Linked DNA regions of Homo sapiens: region 2 is linked to region 1. The links are contacts of gene promoters, found by promoter capture Hi-C in blood cells and fetal thymus (Javierre and others, 2016). All regions are on one chromosome and are shown on one strand. The core of a region is centred on a gene start or on the middle of the fragment in contact, and the rest is flanking DNA. Distances in the headings are between cores, read along the strand shown.

What was found. Contacts are between HindIII fragments. The CHiCAGO score rates a contact against its expected background, and 5 or more counts as called.
Region 2: a fragment that was not itself captured here is called in contact with the fragment with the promoter of GNAZ in region 1 in 1 of 17 cell types (megakaryocytes); the score reaches 12.4 in megakaryocytes.

Annotation. Positions count from the first base shown.
Region 1 is chr22:23,066,919-23,072,847 of GRCh38, reverse strand. It overlaps GNAZ (G protein subunit alpha z), which reads right to left and starts at 2,329. Exons shown (of 3, transcript NM_002073.4): 1 at 2,278-2,329. All of the region lies in intron 4 of RSPH14 (radial spoke head 14 homolog), which reads left to right. RefSeq lists enhancers at 1-747, 748-1,628 and silencers at 2,235-2,374, 2,515-2,654. The HindIII fragment of the contact is 14,108 bases long and covers 1-3,497 here.
Region 2 is chr22:22,956,268-22,962,196 of GRCh38, reverse strand. No RefSeq gene overlaps it. Among named protein-coding and RNA genes, the nearest start is that of IGLL5, 71 kb to the right of the region's middle. The HindIII fragment of the contact is 1,860 bases long and covers 1,680-3,539 here.

The DNA.
Region 1 (5,929 bases), core at 1,080-3,579:
TGGTGGGGCCTCCAGGTCTCTGAGGTTCCTCCTGAGATTCTAGAAAACAAAAGGACTGAGAGGCTGGGGACAGAGGGAAGAATCCATTCCCTGTGTCCCAAACCCACAGTCACATGCCAGGTCCCTGCAACAGTCCAGGCGACAGGCACAGAGCACAGCAGCTCACCCTGCTCAGCACAGACTGCACACCCCACGAGGGCAGGCCCTGTTCTCGCTGCATCAACCTGGGCCTTGGCCAAAGCCAAGTGTGTGTTGGGTGGGGAGGGTAGGCACACTACAAAGATGAGTAACAAACAGCCCCTTCAGAGGGAGAGCAAAAACATCCCCAGAAATGAGGGAGCTGACTTAGGGGGGAAAGTGACACCAATTTCCGAGGGGGAGAAATTATGTCTTATTCACCTCCTGTCTCAGAAAATCAACGTCAGTTAGAGGAACACACAGGAAGACTTTTAAACCAGATGCCAGCATCTCCTCATTCCTAGAGAATGAGGCTTGCTCAAGGCGCATATTTTATCCAAGCACCGCCAGGCCATCCACACCCCCACTGCACCCCGTAGATGGATGCTCCCAGGCTGCCACGATTACTGCTCTCAAACATCCACATCCCAGAGGCACAGAGTCACTAGCTAAGCATCATCCCCGAAACAGGCAACTCAATCCTAACAAGGGGGTTGCCTGGGTGGTTACCCAGTGCCCTGGCTGTGCCCGAGGGAGAAGTGCCTGGAAGCACAGTCTCAGACTGCAAGGAGCCTTCCCCAGTCTTTAAAGCTAGCTCTTCTCCAGGCCCACCCCAGCTCATGGGGTCATGGAACTGCTTCGCTTTTACAGATGAGGAAGCCGTGGTCTCCACCATAGCCACAGTTAACCAGCAGTGGGGTCATTCCACTTCCCAGCTCCCTCAGCCCCGTGCAGCCCCCACCGGCCTTTCCCGCCATACCTCCTCCTACTCCCCAGGCATGCTAAGTGCTCCCATCAGACCTAACTGCCCAAGTGCCTCGGTCTATTCTCTCCTCTCTGCCCACAATGCCCAGCTTAGCTGTGCCCATGTCCTTCAAGCTCCAGTTCAAATGTCATGTTGCCCACGAGCTCACCTGACCCCCCAGCCCAGGACACCACTCTGAGGTCCCTCCCGAGGCCCCTGCACCTGCACTCAAGCGGGGTTGGTCGAGTAGAGACGTTTTCCCCTATGCGGTGGTCAATCAGTCCTGGGAGGGCAGGCCCAGTCCACTCCCACCCGGTGCACCCCAGCGTCAAGCTCTGGGGGAGTGACCACTCAATAAATATTTGCTTAATTGAATTTGGCCAAGGAGCCTTCTCCAGAGAGCTCAATCCCCAGGGCAGGGAAATCACTTGGGCAGAAAGGAGCCGGTCAGGGGCTCAGCTGTCTCCCCAAGCAAGACAGACCTCTCTACCAGGCGGGTCCCTCCACCCCAACACGGACTACGCGGAACGCTGGTCTCGCTTGGCATCATCCTCTTGTCTCAGTTAACAGGAGCCCCCATTCTCGGCCTAGGCCGAATCCTGCCATCATCACCCAGGAAGGCTCAGCACCGCCCTAAAGGCAGAGCCCCCTCGGATCGCCCGCAGGATACGGAGCGCCAGCCCTGAGGCCCTCACTCCCCTCCCCCAAACACCCCCACCGCCTTTTAAGGGAAAAAATATTGAGCCGGGAACGTATTACAATCGCAGCAGGTCGATACTCATCTCTTCCTCTAAATGCCTGTGAGGAACCTGCTCGCTGCAAGAGCAGTGACCGAGAACTGCTAGCTGTCCGTCTGCGGGCCCAGGTCCTCGGGCCCAGGCCTCTGGGGCCCTCTCCTCGGTTTCAGGCAAGGCCCTGCATCGGCTCCGGCCGCCCCTCCCTGATCCTCCCCCTAGGGAGACCCGCCTCAGCGCCGCTCCCGCAGCTCGCCTGGCCCGCCCGGGCTCCGCATCAGCCGCTGCTTGGGGGCGCCCGGCGGCCCCGCGCGGCATCCCCGGCGCCCTCTGTCCACCCTCCCGGGTCCTCAACCGCCCCCTCCCGCGGGGTCATCGGCTTGGCGGCGCATCCCTCCCCCAGCACCTGCCCGACCAGAGGCCGCCCCCTGCCCACCTCGCAGGCGTCCCCGCCCTTGGTGTCCCCCACCCCTGAGGGGCATCCCTGACGCTGCGTCCTGGCGGATCCGGGGCACAAAGGCCTGGGAAGAGTCCCAAGTGGGGGCAAGGTGGATGCCCCGGCCGTGCCCCCGACCCCTGAGGCTCAGCGGCGCGCGGCCGGCCGCGGGTCGGCTCACTCACCTCCGGGCCGCAGCACAGAGCATCTGCCGAGCTGCTCCGGGCAGGGCGGGGCGGGGCGGGGCGGCGAGCACGGGGCCGCGGCGCCCTCGTTCCGTACGACGCGGGCAGCGGCGCCCACGCGGGGACGTGACCGGACCGCGGGCGGCGCACACGCTCCGGCCGGCCTGGTTCCCTCCGCCCGCCCTCCCGCGCCGCCCGCCGCCCGCCGCCCGCCGCCAGTCCGCGGGTCCGCCCGCCCCGCGCCGCGCCGCCGCCGGCAGGGGGCGGAGCCGCGAGCGCAGCCCGTTGCCAGGCCAACCGCGGGCGGGGGGGTGCCGCGCGCCCGCCGGGCACCACGCGCCGGGCACCTCCGCCCCGCCACGAGCGCCGGCCCTCTGTCCATTGGGCACAGGCAGCTGACGGACGGGCCAGTAGCCCAATGGGGACGGACAGGGGCGGGGTCGCAGCTCCGCGCGCGCCGCAGTCCCGCAAGAGCTCCCCGCGCCGGCGTTCCACCGACTCCGCTGCGCTGAGGCCTGGTAGCCGAGCCCCAGGGGCCACCTCTGGCAGCCCGGGAAACCAAGCCTGAGCCCAGCCATGGTCCTGGCCCTCTTTACTGCAGCCAGTCCCGGCTCGCCTTCTCTCCACTCGGGTTCAAACCCAGTTCGGCCTCTTGTGAGCTCTACGTCCTTGGGCAACCGACTGACCTCTCTCAGCCTTTCTGTTTGCAAAGTGGGGCTAGTGGCACCTGCTTTCCTGGATTGTCTCACCAATCCTTCAGAACGTGTGAAAGGCCTATGCAAACCCTAACGATTTACACCGGTGAGGTTTGTGCAGCGATGGGAGGGAGCATTAGTCATCTCTGCCGCCGCCCCCCGCCGCCACCGCCCAGTGTCTAGGGGCTCTTTGGCGTCCCTGGCAATCCTGGCACACGGAAGGGTGGCCTTGGGAGGGAAGGAAGGGAGAAGGACCGAGGAGCTGGCCCCCAGCCCAGACAAGCGTGAGAGAGCCAGTTCAGTTAAGGCCACTGATTGGCGCTTTTGGGAAGCTGGTGGAAAGCATCAGACCCTCAGCAAAACGCAGCTGAACCCAGGCTGCAAAATTCTGTTTTCAATTTCAAAGCCTATCTGTGGACCTCAGGGCCAGGAGTCCCTCAGTTCCATGCTTAAAAGACTCTCAAGCCAGAGGGCCAAGACATGAATGCTCCTGTCTCTCTTCTCCATCTTTGTAAATCTGAAGCTTTGTGTATCCTAGAGCATCCCTGACAAAGTGCAAATGCCTTCCCAGCTAACGCGTTCCTTATCACCTCACACCTTTGTAAGGTGTGGATCATGCCATTCTTTGAGCAGCAGCCCTGGACCTGACCATGGCAGAGGTCCATGGAGCGGTCTCTCCATCATAGCTCTGTGGTGGAGGGGCAGGGGCATGTGCCTGGCTTTGCCAGCTGGACACTGTGGCATCTCAGCATCATCCCATAACCTCCCTAGGAATGTTTCCTCTTCTGTGAGATGGAGACCATTGCGTTACGTACCTGCAGGGTCATGGGCCACCTGTGAGGGTGCTGCCTCAACTGTCAGGAACAGGACGTATATTTGTTATGGGCATCATGGAGGCGAACTTAGTGCTCACTGGAGGTGTCCAGTGAGGACCAAGGGAATTCAGCCAATGGCTGAGGGGCTAGCTACCCTTTGTGCTTGCCTTCCACACCACCAGGCTGTGTCAGGCTGGACCTCTTGCCAGGAGGACCACACAGAGACCGGCAGCTGTGCTACCTGGCTGAGCCTCTGTTTCCTCTTCTGTCAAAAGGGAATGTAACAGACTGTGGTCAGAGGGTGGCTCTGAGGGTTAATGTTTATAGGAAATGCATATTAGCATGTCTTGGGATAGCCAGAGGCTGTTTCCACTGCAGAGTCTGGGGGTCAGAGTTGAATTGTTTGCAGAGGTAAGCCCACATGCAACAGTGAGATGGCCCTTTCCAGTGGTCCAGAGCAGAGGCTAGCCTGCGGAGGGGTCCACTGGGGCTGGCTGACACCTCCCTGACTTGACCTCAAAGTAAGAGAGGGACATCTCACCTGGCATCAAACCAATATTGTATTCATGCAGCAGTCACTTACAGATAGCCTCCTCCACCAGGGTATAGTTGTAGGCACAGTTCTAGGATTCAGACCGGCCCTTTTCTGGCAGACCCTCTGCCTGTAGGGCAGGGGCAGAAAGCAAACAACGATTGGGCCTTACAGTCATGTGAGGCTATCTGAGGAGACCCACTGGGGCTCTGGGGGCATGTGGAGTGGGGGAGCATTGGGCATTGGGCCAGCTTCCCAAAGGAAGAGATGCTTGGAATGAGGCCATAGCAGGCGTGGAGGTGGCCAGTGACATAGGGTGGGAGGGAAGTGAGTTCCAAGGCGGGGACGGTGCAGGACATGAAGGAGCACGAGGCCAGGAAGAACCCAGAGAAGACCAGTGTGGCTGGGGCCAGGGTCGTTGCCCATGCACAGATGCCAGCTTGGGGCAGTAGGATCAGGGACGTTGGCCTAAGAACTGCTCGAGAGTTTTAACATTAGTCTTTTAAATTTGAGAAGGAGGAGGAGAAGTTTTTAATTGCCTGTTTACAGTAGGCGTGGTCCCACAGACAATGTGAGTTGTCCTACTGGACATAATAAAATAACAAAAACATCAGTTAGTCAGTCCAGAGGAAGTGGGAGTGAGCACAGAAGTCAGTCTGTGAGGCTGAGTTCAGTGTACGGTCTGCTGTGGCTGTGAGATGGCAGGGAGACCAAGAGCATGTTAGGAGACAGTGGCGGGGCATTATCAGGACCCAGGGAGATGAGAGAAGGGGAGAGGGTGGGGACCACTGGAGGAAGAGATGGTGCTTACCAAAAAGATGGAGGAGCAGTTGGGGAGGTGGTCAGGAACCAGAGAATGGAGGGTACCAGAGGCACGGGAAGAGAGCATGTGGTAAAGGAAGAAGCTGTTAACCATGCTCCCAGCTACCTGGAAGCCGAGAAAGCTGAGGACAGAGAAGCACCCCTTGGAGCAAAGGCAGGCCCAGTGGGCCAGGAGTTCAGGGCACAGGGCCATGCAAGGCTAAAGCTGGACAGGTGGGTCACCTGCGGCAAGGTGGGCCCCAGATGCCATGTGTGGATGTGCAGTCCCCTAACAGGAAAGGGTGTGGCTGCGACCAGAACCTGGGTGCTGGTGCTCTGTCCTGAGCCCTCATTGGCTGGGAGACAACAGCTGGGGCTTTGCTGTAGCCAGAGGAAGGGGGCCATGGTGGTGACTGAGCCCACTCAGCACCTCCCCAACCCAGCAGGCACAGCTGGCTGAGGAGTGGCCCCTCAACATGGTGTCAGCACCCGCCCTGCCCCACCACAAAGAAAATGACCCAGACTCCACCACTGGGGCTCCACACCATGGACATCCGTGACCCCTCAATCCCATTGGATCTCTTTGGCTCATCAACCACTGAACCCATCCTAGCCCCTACATATCAGCCAGGCCAGATCGGGGACTCCCCACAAACACATACATTTGAGCCCTGCTGTTCTGGGCTCTCCTCCACATCCATGAGAACCAGCTTCCCCGGGGCCTCCCTTTGTGCACCTCCAGAGCCCCTAGGACCCTGGAATTCCTGGTCTACACACATGTCAACCTGTTCTGTAGTGACCTGTCCCCA
Region 2 (5,929 bases), core at 1,360-3,859, 110 kb after region 1:
CATGAGCCACTGTACCTGGCCACTTGCATTGTTTTTCTGAGAAATCTGCTGTCATCCTTTTCTTTGTTCTTCTGCATATAATGTATTTTTTTTCTTCTGGCCACTTAAAATTTTCTCTTAGATGAGTTGGTTTAAGAAATTTGATGATCATAGTGTGACTTGGTATGGTTTTCTTCATGTTTTTGTGATTACGGTTGGTTGAACTTTTTTAATCCGTAGGTATACAGTTTTCATCACATTAAGAAAATTTTCTGTCATTATTTTTTCAAATCCCCTCTTCTTTTTCAGAGACTTTAACCACATATATATTTTACCACTGGCATTTATCTCACAGGTCACTGATGTTCTCTTTATTTTTTTAGTCCTTTAACCCTCTGATAATTTTGTATAATTTCTACTGCTCTGCCTTCAAGTTCACTAATCTTTTCTTCTGCAGTTTCTAATCTGTCATTAATTCCATCTAGTGTATTTTTCATCACATTGTTTTCTATAAGTTTAATTTGGTTTTAGAAAAAACCTTCTGTGCATTCGCCAAAAATGTTTAATCCTTCCTCTAGTTCCTTATACATATGGAATAGTATTATAATAACTGCTTTAATGACCTTATCTATTTATTACCTATGTCAATTTTGGATCAGCTTTGACTGGCTGATATTTTCCTAACTATGGATCATATTCTTCCACTTCTTTGCCTGCATGTTAATTTGTAGTTGAATGCTAGACATTGTGCATTTTATCTTTGCAGGTGCTAGATATTTTTGTATTCTTAAGTTGTGTTCTGGTACACAGTTAAATTATTTTGAAACAGTTTAATCTATCCCCAGCTTTCTTTTAACATTTTTACATGAGACCACAACAGCATTAAGTCTATGGTTAATTTTGTCCACAGATCAGGAAGACTCCTCTGAGTACTCTACCTGATGCTTAATGAATTATGAGATTTTCTGTACTTGTTGATGAGGTCAGGCATTATTTTCAGCCCTGAATTTTCTCTGGGGATTGTTCTGTTCAATGCTTTTGGGTAGTCTTTTTCTTGGCCTCAGGTACATTCCTCATATGCATACACTGATCACTACTCAGTATAATACTTACACTCTCGTATTTGCAGAGTTCTCTTTCTGTTAAGCTCCCTCCTCTTTGGTACTCTGCCCTATGAACTCCAGCGGCCTGGGATCCCAAGCAGCTCTGTTTCTTCAACTCGGGGAGGCCAGTGGGCTGTGGTTACGTTCTCTCCTCCTTGAGCCTCAGACTGGAAACTCTCCATGCAGTAATCTGGGGCAATCGTGGGGCTCATCTTATTCATTTCTCATCTCTTATAAACCACTATCTTTCATTGCCTGATGTCCAGTGACTTAAATATTTTGTGTTGTTTTTAAAATTATTCCAGGCCTAAAAATAAATCCAGCTCCTGTTACTCCATGTTGACCAGAATGTATAATTGTTATTGCTGTTTTTTTTCTTTAAAAAACACCTTTATTGAGATGACTTATCCAATTAAACTGAGGCTCATTTGCAGGGATAGTTTTTGAGGTCAGTGTTTGAGGTTTGCTTTGACCCCAAGAGGTCTGTTTTTAGCCATGTCTTTTCCTGGTTCTCTCTGATAAACTAGCTGGCCTATGGTCTAGTTTATGTCACTAATGAACTTACCAGTTTCCTCTCAATTGCTTTTTGCCCAAGCTTCATTGTTTTGAAAGTCCCCTTAATGTTGAACTTTGTACTCATTTGCAAATAAAGTCAGTTCATTCGGGAAGGGCTTTAGAGCTCTCTATGTCCTGCCTTTCCTCTTGGGGAAATGTTTCAGGAGCTTTTGGCTATGGCTCTGGGGCTGGGTGGGGACAGTGGTAGGTAGCTACTTTCTGAGTGACACCCCTGCTTTAGGAGGTGGGTGCTTATTGGAGAGTCTATTGTATTCCCAGCTTGCTTCTCATAGCATGGAACCTCTACTTTACAAATGAGCTGGTTGATGGTGCCAGTATTCTCAGTGTGTTGCACCCAAGGCAGGGCTTTTGTCCCACAAGTAGGGGCTGAGCAAAAGAAGAGAGCCTCAACCGATTACTACAATCACCTGGAATTTAGTCTCTGCAACAGGTAGCTGGGGTGGGAAGAAAAATGCTGATGGATTTTCCTTCTTGGGAAAATACCATAGCCCTTGACTGGGAGCTGGGTGGAGACAGTGCTGTGTCCTTGGCTGTACCCACCTGGAGTGGAGTTTCTGTCACATTTTGCTGGCAGTGGGAGGAATGGAGCAGGTCGTGGTTGAAATGCCACAGACCCTCCCATTTCTTGCCAGGTTTTAATAGATGTTCTTGAATTAAATGTTTTTTTATTTGCTGTATGCCCTAAGGCCATTTCTAGAGACTTTAAATAAATACATATATCTTAAATATTTTATACACACACACAATTGCCCATTCTGGAAGTGGAAGTCCCCCGTCTCCACCCCCAGGAGGTTTTCAACACTCTAGATGTGGATGCCCAGCTGACCGCTCACTCTGCCTCCCACTGCAGGAAGACTCAAGGATAGATGCCCCAGTGAGTCAACCTCCTAGCTTCTTTTCAAATTCAAACAATCTTTTCTCTAGCCACACCTTGGTTCATAGGCTAAAACCCTTGTTACTTGGATTTGACCTTTTTGAGAATTTTTGGAGCGTGCACAGTCTTGTTGAACCCTAATGCAACCAAGTAGTTGTGTAGTTCTCTTCTAGGGTCAGATTCACTCTCATCAGATAATGTGTGGACCCGGGAAACAAATTATCTGTACATGCTGGCCGTCTCCCTGCATTTCCGCCACCTGGTGGGCAATTTTCACATGGACTGCCTTGAATCTGGATTATATTTGGTGGTCTCTGGCACCCTCCGGTGATGAGATATTTTAGCCCTGTGTTTTGTGGTAGTTTGACCGTATTTCATTTGTGATGAAGTGATTTTTGACCTGTATAACTGCTTTACAAGGAAACACACTTGGAGCTTGTTCACTGAGGGGCTGGAATAGTCAATCTGCATCCATGTCCACAGGCTGTTGGCTGGCATTTCTTCGGTGATGAGTCTGGTTTAGCCTCATTGTGAGAACATGCAAGGTGTGTGCATCCCTGGGTCTCTAGTTTAGTGTTCCTTCCAGGTCTTGGGCACCTATCCCAGCAGATCTTGGTGGCAATCATGAAGGATATCCTGGGGACATCACAACATAGTCCTCTCCCAGTTTTGCTGGCCAGCAGTGAAAAGACCGAGAGGCTGCTTTCGGGTCTTGTTTTTACAACTAGACCTTCGAAAGACATAAAGCATCTGTGTCCCTGCTTTGTAAGGTTCCAATCACCCCAGATCTTTTTCTTCATCCCCATGAGCAGTGGGGGGTCACGTTAACAATTTGGATCCAGTTATTCTCAGCAGCTAATGTCCTTCCAGCAGAGAGGGCGGACGCTGGGACTGTCCCATCATCGATGTTCCTCCAGCTCAGCCATCTTCTGGCTGCTGGACCAGATTGTCTGACTTTATTACCCAAGGGCTGAAAGGCTTATTGTCCCTGTGGCCACTTGGAAGCTTATGATCTTTGACTCCTGAGCTGTATTCTGTCATCCATTTAGCATAATATAGCGATCAGTCCAAGGACTCCAGTTCCTTATTTTACTTGTGAAGGATCATTTAGAAAAAAAATTCAACCTCCTTAGCAGTAGTTTGTCCTGGAATGTTGGTTTTATTAATAATTACTGTGGGTTACACCTCCCCTGCCTTCTCACCTTCTTTGAGGTTTCCCACATGAAAACCCCTGACACTGACTGAGGGATGGTCAGATTTTTAAAAATGTGACATTGGGGTTTTGAGGACCAGCATTCACGTCCATCCTGTATGAGGCCATCCTTGAAGTCAGAAGTTTTCCACTCTGAACCATCATTAGAGGAGTCATCGCTATGGTGACATGATGGTTTTCTCTCTTTCCATGAACTTGGAGATGGGGAATTATTTGAAAAGATAGAGAGCTGAGTGTCCAACCTCACTCTGGTCATATGACGTCTCTAGGGGAGCAAAGGCTAAAGGAAATTGGTTTCCTCCTTGCTGTGCAATGCACTAGCTTTTGGACACATGGCTGTCCTGTCACTTTTTACTGGAGCTAGGCCCGAGGCATTTGCAGGAGTGTAATTTATTTGGCCCCAAGCTGTGACACGTTCTGGGTCCACCGGAAATTCTTGATTTCTTTTATACTCTGCTGGGCGGGCTTCTCTAGGGTACTTATTCTAGGAATAAATCTCACGAATCTTTGTGGGCTTTGAAGTCCACATTGCTCCTTGGAGAGGAGAGAGCATCTGCATCCATTCTTTGCTCACCCACCACCCCCGAAGTGGCCATTCCAAAGAAAGCTGCCTGTGTTCTCACTGGCTGATATCTATCCCCATTTTAACCTGATTTAGATGGGGCTGACCAGCATTTATGGTTTGGTCACAACGCTTGCCTTCTGCAGTTCCCTGTGGCAGCTGACTGTTTGCATTCTGCAAGATGAATGCCTGAAGGCTTCATTTGACTTCATTTGATTGAAGGTCTATCATAGTAGCAGTTCGGAGATGACCTTCATTTCCATGCCATCTTTTGATGCTGAGATATTGTGTCAACCAGGGTAGACTCAGGAGGCAAACCACACCAGTAATTTGAACAGGGATTTTTTCAGAGTTGTTAAACTATAAAGAGTGGTGAGCTCATGAAAAGGATAAAGCAGGACTGTACAACGTTCATGAGTAGCAGATTCAGAAAGCAGCTACCGACTCACGCGGAGTGAGTGAAGGAACTAAGAGCTTGAGAATGGGACCCCAGGCAAGGCTGAGATTCAGACTTTTCCAGGAGAGCATGGTTTTGCTGTGAGCTGTAGCCTGCCAGAGGCCAAGACGCTTGCCAGAGAGTGTGAGCAGAAGCTGGTCCATGGAAGGGCCTATCATTGCCCAGGGGTATGTGGGTGGGCTGGTGCAGGTCTGGAGGATCAGCCCCAGGGTGGAAAGGTGATTGCCTGAGGATGCAGTAGGAGCTTGTCTGTAGAAGCAGCAGCCAGGGACTTTATATTTGCACAGATAATCTTTTCACACATTGCCCTTTTAGGGATATGGAAAGTAGAGTCCTGGGCTAAACAGATGCCTTCTTTAACAGTTCACTATGGAAGCTGGATGTGGTGGCTCATGCCTGTAATCCCAGCACTTTGGGAGGCCAAGGTGGGAGGATTCCTTGAGGCCAGGAGTTCGAGACCAGCTTAGGCAAATAATGAGATTCCCCATCTCTACAAAAAATACAAAAATTAGCTAAGTGTGGTGGTGTGTGCATGTAGTCCCGGCTACTCAGGAGGCTGAGGCAGGAGGATCACTTGAGCCCAGGAGTCTGAGATTGCAGGGAGCTATGGATGCACTGCTGCTCTCTAGCCTGGGTGATACAGGGAGACCCTGTCTCAAGAAAAGGAATACACTATGGAAAAGGAGGTGAACGTTCGGTGGTCAGCAGCCTGTTGCTGCCATAGGGGGTTTTAGTGGCCAAAGGCTAAGTGTAATGGCTTTGCTATTGCAGGGGCCACCCTCACTTCCCCGCCTATCCTACCATAGGCTGAGATATTTAGGCCACTGAGATTCTGCACACAAGTCTTACACACAGAATCAGAAGGAAATTGACCAAAGAAAGGCCCTGAGATGGTTGTCCAAATTCCAGGAGGAAGCGCTCATGGTGAACCAGTGCTCTGGTCACACTAGCTGAGTAACTCTTGTTCTAGGAGTGCTGTGGTGACTGCTTTGGGTTGAGGGACGCTTCTGATAATTCTCAACCAGGGGTAAGGCAAGGGGTCTGCAGGCAGGCAGTGGGAATGACTGCTGTACGAGGTCACTGCTTATTCCAACACCAGGAGCCATGCCACTCTACCCCAGCTGCCACAGGAAGGGAGACCTGCAGGCTGCCCATGTAGGAACTC